2 separate regions of the Homo sapiens genome follow, and region 1 is linked to region 2. The links are contacts of gene promoters, found by promoter capture Hi-C in human tissues and cell types (Jung and others, 2019). All regions are on one chromosome and are shown on one strand. Each heading gives the region's core, a stretch centred on a gene start or on the middle of the fragment in contact. The rest is flanking DNA. Distances are from core to core; before and after follow the strand shown. Region 1 overlaps FOXF2-DT (FOXF2 divergent transcript). Region 2 holds the start of FOXQ1 (forkhead box Q1).

What was found. The method cuts DNA at HindIII sites, captures the fragments that hold promoters and counts their contacts. A contact is called where the count stands out against the background at its distance.
Region 1: a fragment that was not itself captured here is called in contact with the fragment with the promoter of FOXQ1 in region 2 in 1 of the 25 tissues and cell types used here (lymphoblastoid cells).

What each region holds. Positions count from the first base shown.
Region 1 is chr6:1,363,012-1,368,211 of GRCh38, reverse strand. All of the region lies in intron 1 of FOXF2-DT (FOXF2 divergent transcript), which reads left to right. Among named protein-coding and RNA genes, the nearest start is that of FOXF2-DT, 24 kb to the left of the region's middle. The HindIII fragment of the contact is 7,838 bases long and covers 1-5,200 here.
Region 2 is chr6:1,310,705-1,315,951 of GRCh38, reverse strand. FOXQ1 (forkhead box Q1) reads right to left here and starts at 3,854. Exons shown (of 1, transcript NM_033260.4): 1 at 1,194-3,854. The coding sequence starts at 3,247. The coding sequence ends at 2,036. RefSeq lists an enhancer at 2,684-3,400. The HindIII fragment of the contact is 14,044 bases long and covers 1-5,247 here.

The DNA.
Region 1 (5,200 bases), core at 2,617-5,116, 52 kb before region 2:
GGATTGAGCATAAATTTTCCTTTTTTCTCTTCTCCAACTCGAGAGAGCTTCTCATTTAAAATATTATCCAGAAGGTCCGTGTTTCAATTCCAAGATTGTACTGTCTTCCTCTTAAACTAGAAGATGTGGCTGGGCAGGGCGGCTCATGCCTGCAAATCCCGGCACTTTGGGAGGCTGAGCGGGGAGGATCACTCGAGTCCAGGAGTCTGAGACAAGCCTGGGCAACATGGCCACATCCCGTCTCTACAAAGCATTTAAAAAAGCCGGGCGTGATGGCGTGTGTCTGTAGTCCCAGCTACTTGGGAGGCTGAGGTAAGAAGATCACTTGAGCCTGGACAGTTGAGGCTGCTGTGAGCCAAGGTTGTGCCACTGTACTCCAGCCTGGGTGGCAGAGACCCTGTCTCAAAAATAAATGAGAAATAAATGAATAAAAGAGAAATAAAATGGAAGATGTCTGCCCTAGGGTCCATCCTTTAAGGAGACTGCTGTGAGTGGAGGATCACCCTTTAAGGAGACCTCGGTGAGGTGTGGATGGGTGGTAGGTTACTCAGGACACACTTTCATCAGAAGTGGAAGGGATGGGGATGGGCATTGGAACCTTGGGATGCTCTCTCCCTGCAGTGGATTGAGCATCTGTGGGTTGGCCTGGGCTGGGCCCTGTCTTGTGCGCCTGGTCTTCTCAGAGATGAAACTTCTAGGGTGAGGGGTCACTGGTGTTGGGCTGCCACCACCCACAGGACAGCCTGGAGGGGTCTGCTCCCTCTTTTGGTCTTTAGTATTTGGCAACTGATGACACAGCCAATGCTTTTTCATCTAGTCATCTCTGTTCTCTGGACACTGTCACTTTTGCTTCAGATCTCTCTCGTGTAAAAAGCTTCTTTAAAAAACTCTTAGGTTTTCCTGTTTTGATTTTGAGAGAACACTGCTTCTTCAGGCTTGTTATTCCAAGGCCTAGATCTGGCTTCCTTACTTTGGTATAGATATTAATACCTTGATGAAAGTTTGCTAATTTCCTTATTTAATTTTATTTATTTTTAGGGACGGTATCCCTCTATCACCCAGGCTGGAGTGCAGTGGCACGATCCTAGCTCACCTCAGCCTCAACCTCCTAGGCTCAAGTGATTCTCCTGCCTCAGCCTCATGAGTAGCTGGGGACTCCAAGTGTGCACAACCCTGCCCAGATAATCTTTAATTTTTTTTTTGTAGAGATGGGGGCCTTACTATGCTGCCCAGGCTGGTCTTGAATTCCTGGCCTCAAGTGATCCCTCTGTCTTGGCCTCTGAAAGTACTAGGGTTACAGGCGTAAGCCACCATGCTTTGCTATTTTCCTTATTTTAAAAAAATTCCTCTGTCCCTGGGACAAAGAGAGAAGTAAAACAAACAAACAAGTCAAAGTTTTTGTGCTTTTCTAGGTCATCACAATTTGAATGTGGAAACAAAATTCTGAAATACTTTTTGTTTTGAATGAAATTCAGAATGGAGGGGCATCTTGCATCTGCCTTTTCATACAGCCAAAGGAGGGTTCTAGGAAAAGTCCACACATGCTTGATTTTTGCCTCCGTTTTTATCTGGATCTTTGCCTTCTGTGGTCTGCACTATGAGCTATGACAGTCTTCTTTCTCTGAGGTGTCTCCTTACTTGGGAAGGGCCTGCAAGCTCCATAATAGTTTTCTTTGCATGATTTCCTGCAGTGGTTGAGCATGTAGCAAACAATCTCGATGCTCCCCTATGCTTTTGAGGTGAAATTTAACTCGAGGTTCGTCTGTGTCCTGGAGACCGGTTGCTCTGCGTTAGCTGTGTGTGTGGCATTCCCTGCACTTCAGAGCCACGGTGCTGAGCTGTCTTCCATAGTGACTTACATAGCACAGGTAAATTACCCAACAGGACTTCAGAACCAGAGCAGACCCATGAAGGCAGGGATTTGAAATACCTGGGCTTTTGACTTAGTTCCTGAGATAGGAAAGCCTTCTTTTTCCTTTGCGAGTTTCTTTTCCCTTTTACTTTTTCCAAGTTTCATTGTTGCCGAATAGGTTATCTGTAGGTCAGTGGGTTTACGGGTTGTTTGGATTTCCTAAAATTGTGTTTTTCCCTAAATGTGGCACGAGAGATTGTTTGCAGGCTGCTGTGTGAATGGGATGGCCTACTGTGGCCGACACAATGCTGCTATTTCTGTTTTTCTCTGTTGCCCCCAGTGAAGGTATTTTAAGGCTCCCGGTATTTAAGAAGACTAAAACCAGCAGAGAAAAATCCTGGACTTCTTCAGTTTCCTGCCAATTCTGCAGAGTTCAGAACAACTTTTATTTATTTATTTTTTAAAGGAATTTTTTCCATGACATTCAAGAAGCCAGCTACATTTTGCAATACTTTTCTTTCTGATGAATAATTTTCCAGATACAGCGTGCGGATGAATTTTGGTTTAGATACGCAGGCCGTATAACTCCAGATGCAAATGCAGATGTTTATGAGTTCATGGAATGGAAGATATAAATGTCCTGACTTTGCTGTATGCCTTGAGAAGCATCCCTTTTTCTATTTAGAGAGGGAGAGAAAAAAAACCAACAACCCAGATTTGCTTAGTTTCCTGCTTTAAACATTTACGCTTTAAAGGAGCTTATTTACATAATAAATGATATTGCTCGAGAGCATATGTGGGGAAATTTTGACCAAAAACTCTTTTCCTTTAATCTGCACATGCCGTGGTTTGTGGAAGTGTGTGTTCACATGCAGAATCACTTATCAGTATGGAAGGCTTGAGGCCATGGACAGCACAGTTTAAGATAAACTTGACTCAGCAACATGGGAAAGTATTATTCATTCTGAAAATCATACTTCAAAAGTTTATTTAGTTCTCTTACCTTAACAGAGGTAAAGACATTAAGTAAATTCGTAGAATTATTTTGAGTTACCACTCAGAAAATAATTTAAAACTTAATAACTGCATCGTGTAACAGTCTTTGGATCCAATTATTTGGGATACTTTGTATGAGAATAAATGACTGTTTCTTGCTATAAAATATAGAATGGAGTCACTTGAATAGGATTCTTAGGTTGTAATATTTTTATGTTTGTGATGCTGATGGATCTACAAGTGAACATTCATAAAACTTTCATCTTTTCAACAAATATTTATGGAACCATTGCTACATGCCAGAAATATTTGCCAAGGCCTGTTGATTCATGGGTGAACAAGGCTGATAATGTTTGCTGCCCAGTCTTCCCTGAGAAAATGTAAGAGAACACTGAAGGATACAGGAAAGATAATGTTAGGGGTTGGATTTGGCCTCCCCAGAGCTCATATGTTGAAGCCCTAACCTTCAGGACCTCAGGATGTGACGGTATTTAGAGATAGAGTCTTAAAAGAGGCAATTAAGTTAAAATGAGGCCTTTGGGTGAGCCCTAATCCAATTTAGACGCTGTCCTTAAAAGGAGAAGAAATGAGGACACAGACACACTAAGAGGGAAGGTCATTTGAAGACACAGAGAGAAGACGCCATCTGCAAGCCAAGGAGAGGAGCACCAGGAGAAACCAACCCTGCCCACCTCTTGGTATCAGACTTCCAGCCTCCAGGACTGTGAGAGGATAAATGCTTGTTGTCTAAGCCCCCAGTGTCTGATATTTGTTACGGAAGCCGGAGCACACGAATCCAGATAGAAAGCTGGCTAATAAGATAGAAAGAGGAATACTGCTTAAGGAGACTGGGTGGAATGACTGCTCACTGTCCTATGCCAATAAATTGCAGAATTTTAAAAAAGTATGTGTAGAGTAAATGCTAATGCTTGATGACTGTGCCTATAATAAGTGACGCAGACATGTTACTACTGCTTTTCTGCTATGCCTGTTAATATTAGTATTTGCAAAACTCCTGAAGCATGGGGATGACGCCATCTGCTGGACCGTATCCTGCTCCCACGCGTGAGGGCAGAGGGTACAGGAGGTGCTTGATATTGATTCTACACTAAATCATTCTTAAAACTTCAGGAGTCTGTCGTGAGCCATGGGAAGTTGTTTTCAAGTAAGGGGAAATGGAAGTTTTGTATTATGAACACCGTCCACATCATCTCTTTTATCTGGGAAGAAGCTGAGGTTCTGCTTTGCAGTCACATTTTTGTCCATCGTAAGTGGATAAATGTGGTTTGCATCATTCAGTGCCTTGGGAATGTCTTACGGGATATTTCTGGAATGGGCAAAGTTCAGCACAGTCTGGAGCCAAAATGTCCCCATTATTGAGCCAATATAGTTCAAATGTTTATGACCCATCTCCAGAATGGCGTGCACATGTGAAGGGTTGTCAGTGAGGTGGAACATGTCCCCAGGAACGGAGAGAAAGCTGCGGAGAAGCAAGCGTGCCATGTGGCTGCCTCGAATGTCCTTTCTGGTTTGGAAGCCTGCAGCTGCAGAAGGCCTGTGAGTGTGGAGGAGGCTCTTCCTGGTAAAAACGCACCTCCCAACCCTGGTTGGAAGCCCCAAGGCTGTGGGAAAGCCCAGGCTCCCTGGGCCTTGATTTTTTTTTTTTTTTTTCTTCCTGGATTCTGCCTTCAAGATCAAAGGAAGTCATCTAGAGTAGTGTTCTCATGATGTGGTGTGTGGATCCCTGGGGTCTCCATGACCCTCTCAGGGGTCTGTGAGGTTGAAACTATTTCATAATAATACTAAGACAGTATTTCCTCTTTTCACCATCACTCTCACAAGAGAGTGCCCTAGGGTTTTCCAGAGGCTACGATACATGGCGTGTGAAGATATTGCACAATGGCTGGTGAAACATGGGCTTGTGTGTTCTTATGTCCTCCAGAACCTTCTCAGTTAGTAGGGTTGATGTGTTCGGGGCACATTTTCAGAGATGAACTCAGCTTGTTCTTAGTTCCTCCACTGCGTTCTTGCTGTCTGTCTTCCCTGTGTCTACTATCATGTTTATAAATTGTTATATTGAAGTCCCAACAGTTTCTCTGCAACTGTGCAGAAATATGACAAAAAGTAAGTACGGTTTTTGTCTTGTTTCAATAGCATTCTCCTATTTTTTCTGAACCCTTTTATAAATTTTATAATTCTGTCTAAAACTGTTACAATTCTAGAATCTAATATCTTATTCTAAAATAAAATGAAATTTATTTGTAACACGTTTTGTTATATTTAAGGATGGGTCATGGACTTTCCAAAGGGACATTAGAAGATTTGCTTTCTCAGCGTGCAGCATCTCATGTG
Region 2 (5,247 bases), core at 2,605-5,104:
GTCTGATCATTTCTACCCAGGGAACCTGTTGTCCCCTGCCCCTAGTTGCTGGTCTGTTTCAGGTTTATTTTGGGGTCGGATTATTGGCCCTGTGGGTGCAAATGTCTACCTCTTGCCGTAATTCAACCCTATTATTATCACTCTTTATGATTACTAAGTAGATGTCATCCAAATCAGTCAAGACTCATCATCTGTTAACCTGATTTAGGGAAGATTGTTTCTCTCCCATTCCTGCCAAAAGAGAGCATCCTGAAATAAACGCCACCCTCCTTCCCCACCTCATTATATGTAGAGCTCAAATCATCCTCCTGTCCTGGGTAAGATGGGATCTACCCAAGAATGGCAGCCATGGCAATGAGGCCTGTTTCTAGTCTCTGCATTTCCCACAGTTTGTATTACTCTCTAAAATTTTGCAATCCATGCATTGTTAAAACTGTATTGCCTAGGAACCTACTGAAGAACAGGTGTTCACCCTGGTACTCCCACTGATGAAAATCCTCCGTTACATTTATAATATGGGAAACTGTCTCTCCCTCTCTCCAGGAGGCATTTTCTCTTCAGACTGCAACTGAAACATGCAAGACATTGCCACTGCTTCAAGTGAAATCTTTACAGATGAGGGAAGAGTGAAAAAAATACTACCCATTGGTTCACACCCAGTTGAACTTTTGCATTCCTAAAAAGGTGGATGGTTTTGTTTTGACAAAAACACTATGACATTTAAATTGCTTTTGAAATTGCCCTGAAGACACCTTTGATATTTTAAGATAGTCTTATGACAAAAAAGTTGTCAAAAAAATTGGGGCTCCAACTTTTTGAGCCCCAAATCGAAACCAATTTACCTGAAAATATCTGTTTGACTCTAGGCTTGTTAAGAACTCAACTTGCCTGCTAAGGATTCTTGGGGGAGAGAGGGACACTTCCCTCTCATTTGTTCTGGAAGCACTTAGGTGACTAATTAGAGGAGTAATTGGTTTTCAACTTTTAAAAAGCCCATGAATGGAAGTCCTATCTGGAAATCTGTCTAGCAATGCATCTCATACGGAAATCTGCAAGCCCATTCTATAATACCTTTATCGAATTATTCAGGAAAATATTTTTATCTCCAGAGGAAGTTTCTTGAGACCAAAACCTGAGCCCATTTTTTTGGGAGGGGGGACAGACATAAAAATCTCTCCACTTCCAACCCATCATCACAATGTGTTAAGTCAGTTGTTTTATTAAAAAATAAGCACTATGCTTGGGTTTCATAAAATTTATACATGAATATGTACACAGACACAAATAAAATAATATTAAAAATAAAAATCACACTTGCTTTCAAGGCAGTGGTCCTGGCACCCCACATACATAATCAACTTTTCCTTTAAAGAAATTGCTTGGCCCAAGGAGACCACAGTTAGAGAACCACTAATAAAGCTGTAGCCCGTTGCCTGCAACATTTTCAATTCGGGTTTCAAAAATATATAAATAATTTAATTACAAAACCCAACATTTTTTTTCTCTTTTGGCACAGTGAAGCATCGGTCAATAGCAAGAAATCACTGAAGAGCCTCTGACATGTCTCTCACACTCAGTCATACCTGGAAATGCCACATACGTACACGGATGGGGGCCCAGAAACCCCAAACAGTAGTCATATCATTTATAGTGTGGAAAGGTTCCCTGATGTACTTAGGGGGGAGGGAAGGGACATAAATCAATGGAAGTTGCGACAAAAACAGTAGAAATAAGACGAAGCCTGGGCGTTAAAGAAAGACAAAAAAAGTCCTTATGAAGGGAAGGAGGAGCAGGCTTCGCAAAGAAACTAAAACAAGAATTGCTTTGGTCCTCTGTAAAGTTATAAAACACAAAGGAAAATATCCTGGACTAAGTTTAAATACTCCTGTCAAAATGCTTTAGCTTTAAGGCACGTTTGATGGAGATTTTAAAAATTCATCTTCCTCTGGATTCAAAGTGCAAAGTCCGCGCGCGGGCCCGCGTTCCCGCCTCCCCGACGGCGCGCACTCGGCGTTCCCGGGCCCCGCGGCGCTACTCAGGCTAGGAGCGTCTCCACCGGGTACGGCAGGTGCGGGCCAGGGCGGCGGACTGAGGCCGCCTGCAGGGCTGCGGGCAGCCGCAGGGGGCAGTACAGGTGCGCGCCGCCGGCCGCCGGGCCTCGGAGTGGCTTGGCGGGGGCCGCCGCCGGGAGAGGTGCAAGCAGGAGGGGCGGCGCGGTCGGTGGCACCTCGGCCTCGCGCGCGCCCAGCCGCGCCGGCTCGCCCGCGCCGTACGCGCAGAGCGGCAGCAGGGCCCTGCAGGGCGCCGCGGGGAGGAGCGCGGGGAACGCGGGCAGCGGCGGGCAGGGCGCGGCGCCCCACTGAAGCGTCGTCCCGGGGGCCGTGTCCCTGAGGCGGCGGCTGCGGAAGGGCTTGCGCAGGATGCTGTCGATGGCGAAGGAGCTGGAGAACTTGCCCGCGGGGCTGGCGCGCTCCTCCTGGCGGGCGGGCGAGCGCATGCGGGGCGAGGCCGGGGCGGCGGGCGCGGGCGGCGGGGCGGCGGGGAGGCCCGGGGCCTCCTCGGGCCGCAGCCCGGGCGCGGGGACCGGCGCGCGGTGGCTGAGGCGCTTGCGGCGGCGGCGGAAGACCCCGTCGGCGAAGGTGTACTCGCTGTTGGGGTTGAGCATCCAGTAGTTGTCCTTGCCCCAGGGCCGCGAGGGGTCGCGCAGCACCTTGACGAAGCAGTCGTTGAGCGAAAGGTTGTGGCGCACGGAGTTGCGCCAGCCCGTGTAGCTGCCGCGGAAAAAGGGGAACTTGCCCATGAGGTACTCGTTGATCTCCGCCAGCGTCAAGCGCCCGCCCGCCGAGTCGCGGATGGCCATGGCGATGAGCGCGATGTACGAGTAGGGGGGCTTGGGCCGCCGCGTATATGGCTTGCTGCGTGCACCCTCGCCGCTCCCCGCGCCGCCCGCGCCTGGCCCCGCCGCCCCGGCCTCCGCGCCCTCCGCCACCACCGCTGCAGCAGCTGCTGCCGGGATCGCCTCCTCCGCGCCCGGCCCGCCTCCCGCACTCTGTTCGCCGTCGCCCTGCGTATCTCTGGCGCCGCCGCCCGCGGCCGGGCTGTTGGCCGCGCAGTCCCCATCTGAGCCCAGGGAGTCGTCTCCCGCCGCCGACAGCGGGGACGGCGCGTCGCTGCCGCCCGCGCCCTCCAGGTCACTGCCCTGCTTGTCCCCGTGGGCCGCGCGAGGGACGAACACCTCCAACTTCATGCCCGCGCACCCAGTCCCTCCCCGGCGTCGTACCCTCTTCCTTCGCGCAGCCTAGAGAAGCTGGTGCCAGGGAAGGGGATGGCGATCCGGGGCCGGGGATCTTCGCCTTTTTCTCCCGGGAGCTCTACCCTGGTCTTCCGAGATAGTCACTTTTCCGGAGTCCTCTTCCGCTGGGCTTTTTCTCTGGAGGGGCTGCAAGTGTTGGGTGGACTATGGGGCGGAGAGGGAGGAGTTGGGTGGGTGTCGCCTTCGGTTCGACGTTGAGACTTTGGGGTGAGTGTGTGCAGGGGCCGCGGTTCCACCCTCGGGTGCCCGAGCACGCCGGGCTTAGAAGGCTTTCCTGCCGGAGAGAAGCAGCATGCGCATCTGCTGCTCGTTAAAGAGCCCAGGAGGGGTTCTTCACTGGCGGTCCCAGGTCCCGCGCGGGCGTCTTCGGGGCACGGAAATGGTGCCGGATGATGTGCGTGCCACCGTGGGGGAAGGTCCGGCGCCTTCAGCCTTGAGCACCCGCGGAGGCGAGTCCCCGAGGCCGCTGCGCCCGCAGCCGCCTTCCCGCTCCCAGCCTCCGGGGCAGCATCTCCCCGCTGGCCTGCCGCGGCTGCGTCTCGCCTCCACCTTCGGGCCGGCCCAATATAACCCTGCGGCGGCTCCGCGGGGGCGGGGCCTGAGCGCGGACGGCAAGGGGTGGGGGAACGAGGTGGCCGAGGTGGTGGCGGCTCCCCAGTTCCCCAGCTCCCCAACGGGCGCGCACCAGGCGGAGGCCACACTGCAGCGCGGCGGCAAAGTCGCTGGCGCAGGTTGTTTGTTTTGGGTCGGCCGGCCCCGCCTTCCTCCTCCCGCCAATGGGGAGCGCGCGCGCCGCTGTGGGTTTGCGCGTGTCTGTGAGTGTGCGTGTGTGCGCGCGCGGGGCCGCTCCGCCAGCCGGCTCCTCCGTTCAGGTGTGGGCCCCAGCCCCGGGCAGCCCGCGAGGGCTCCCTGCGCCCTGGAGTTCGGGGACGCAGTTTAGGCGAGTGCGCCTGGTTGGGGGGACACGCCACAGTTCCCCTAGGGGGACACCTGAAGGGACTGGGTCTAGGGGAGCAGGGACTTTGCTCGGGCCTAAGCTGCACGCGGCGTATGTGCTTCTGTAGTAGTGAAAACGATGCTGCTTACGAAAGCAAACCCCTGTCGTCACTGCAGAGGTGCTGAACAGAAATTGCGCAGGACACTTGCAGTGACCTCTTTCGGGAGCCTTGTGCTGTGCCCCTTCCTATGAGCTCCTTTCAAGGACCATCTTGTCTTTTCCTCTTGTTTTAATGAATGCACTCCTGGGCTTGAAATTGTATGCGCCTTTTTGGATGACCTTTACTCTTGCTCACTAAATGGGCTCCGACTTTCACTTTTCTTTGTCTTACTTTACCTTTTTCTTTACCTGGCTGGTGACTCCTGCGGGAGGACAGCAGCGTCCTCCTCTTCCCCTGGGGCGGCTGTGTCTGGCGCAGGGTGCTGGGCTGTGCCTGCACTTGTGTCCCTGCGGAAGCCTCAGATGCCGCCGAGCTCCGCCGCTTGGTTCCCGGGATCTGACAGTCAACAGGAACGACGGAGAGGGCGTGTTCCCGGGGGCGGGGGCAAGAACAAACCGGTTCACGGCCATTTCTTTCCAATATTCCTTTGGGACTTTTGCTGTGACCTCACTGGCACCAGTGTCGGACAATCTCGAAAGGGGGGACCGTTCCTCACCCCAGGGCGCCCGGGGCGTGATCCCCACGCGGCGTCATTAGTCCAGGGAGCGGGCGCCTCGGCCCCGGGAAGGTGCACTTCCAGCCCGCTGCCCTGCCACGCCGAGTTTCCTCCTTTTTCCTGCCTTTGTTGCACAAAAAGCGACGGAGCCGCTAGTAGGTGGGAGCTCACCTTTGATGTTTATTTTATTACTTTCCACCATTTGTGTTGAAAACGTACACAATCCTCTCTTATCTTTATTCAGGGAGTTTTGAAGCCATTCACAATGGGGCGGGCAACAT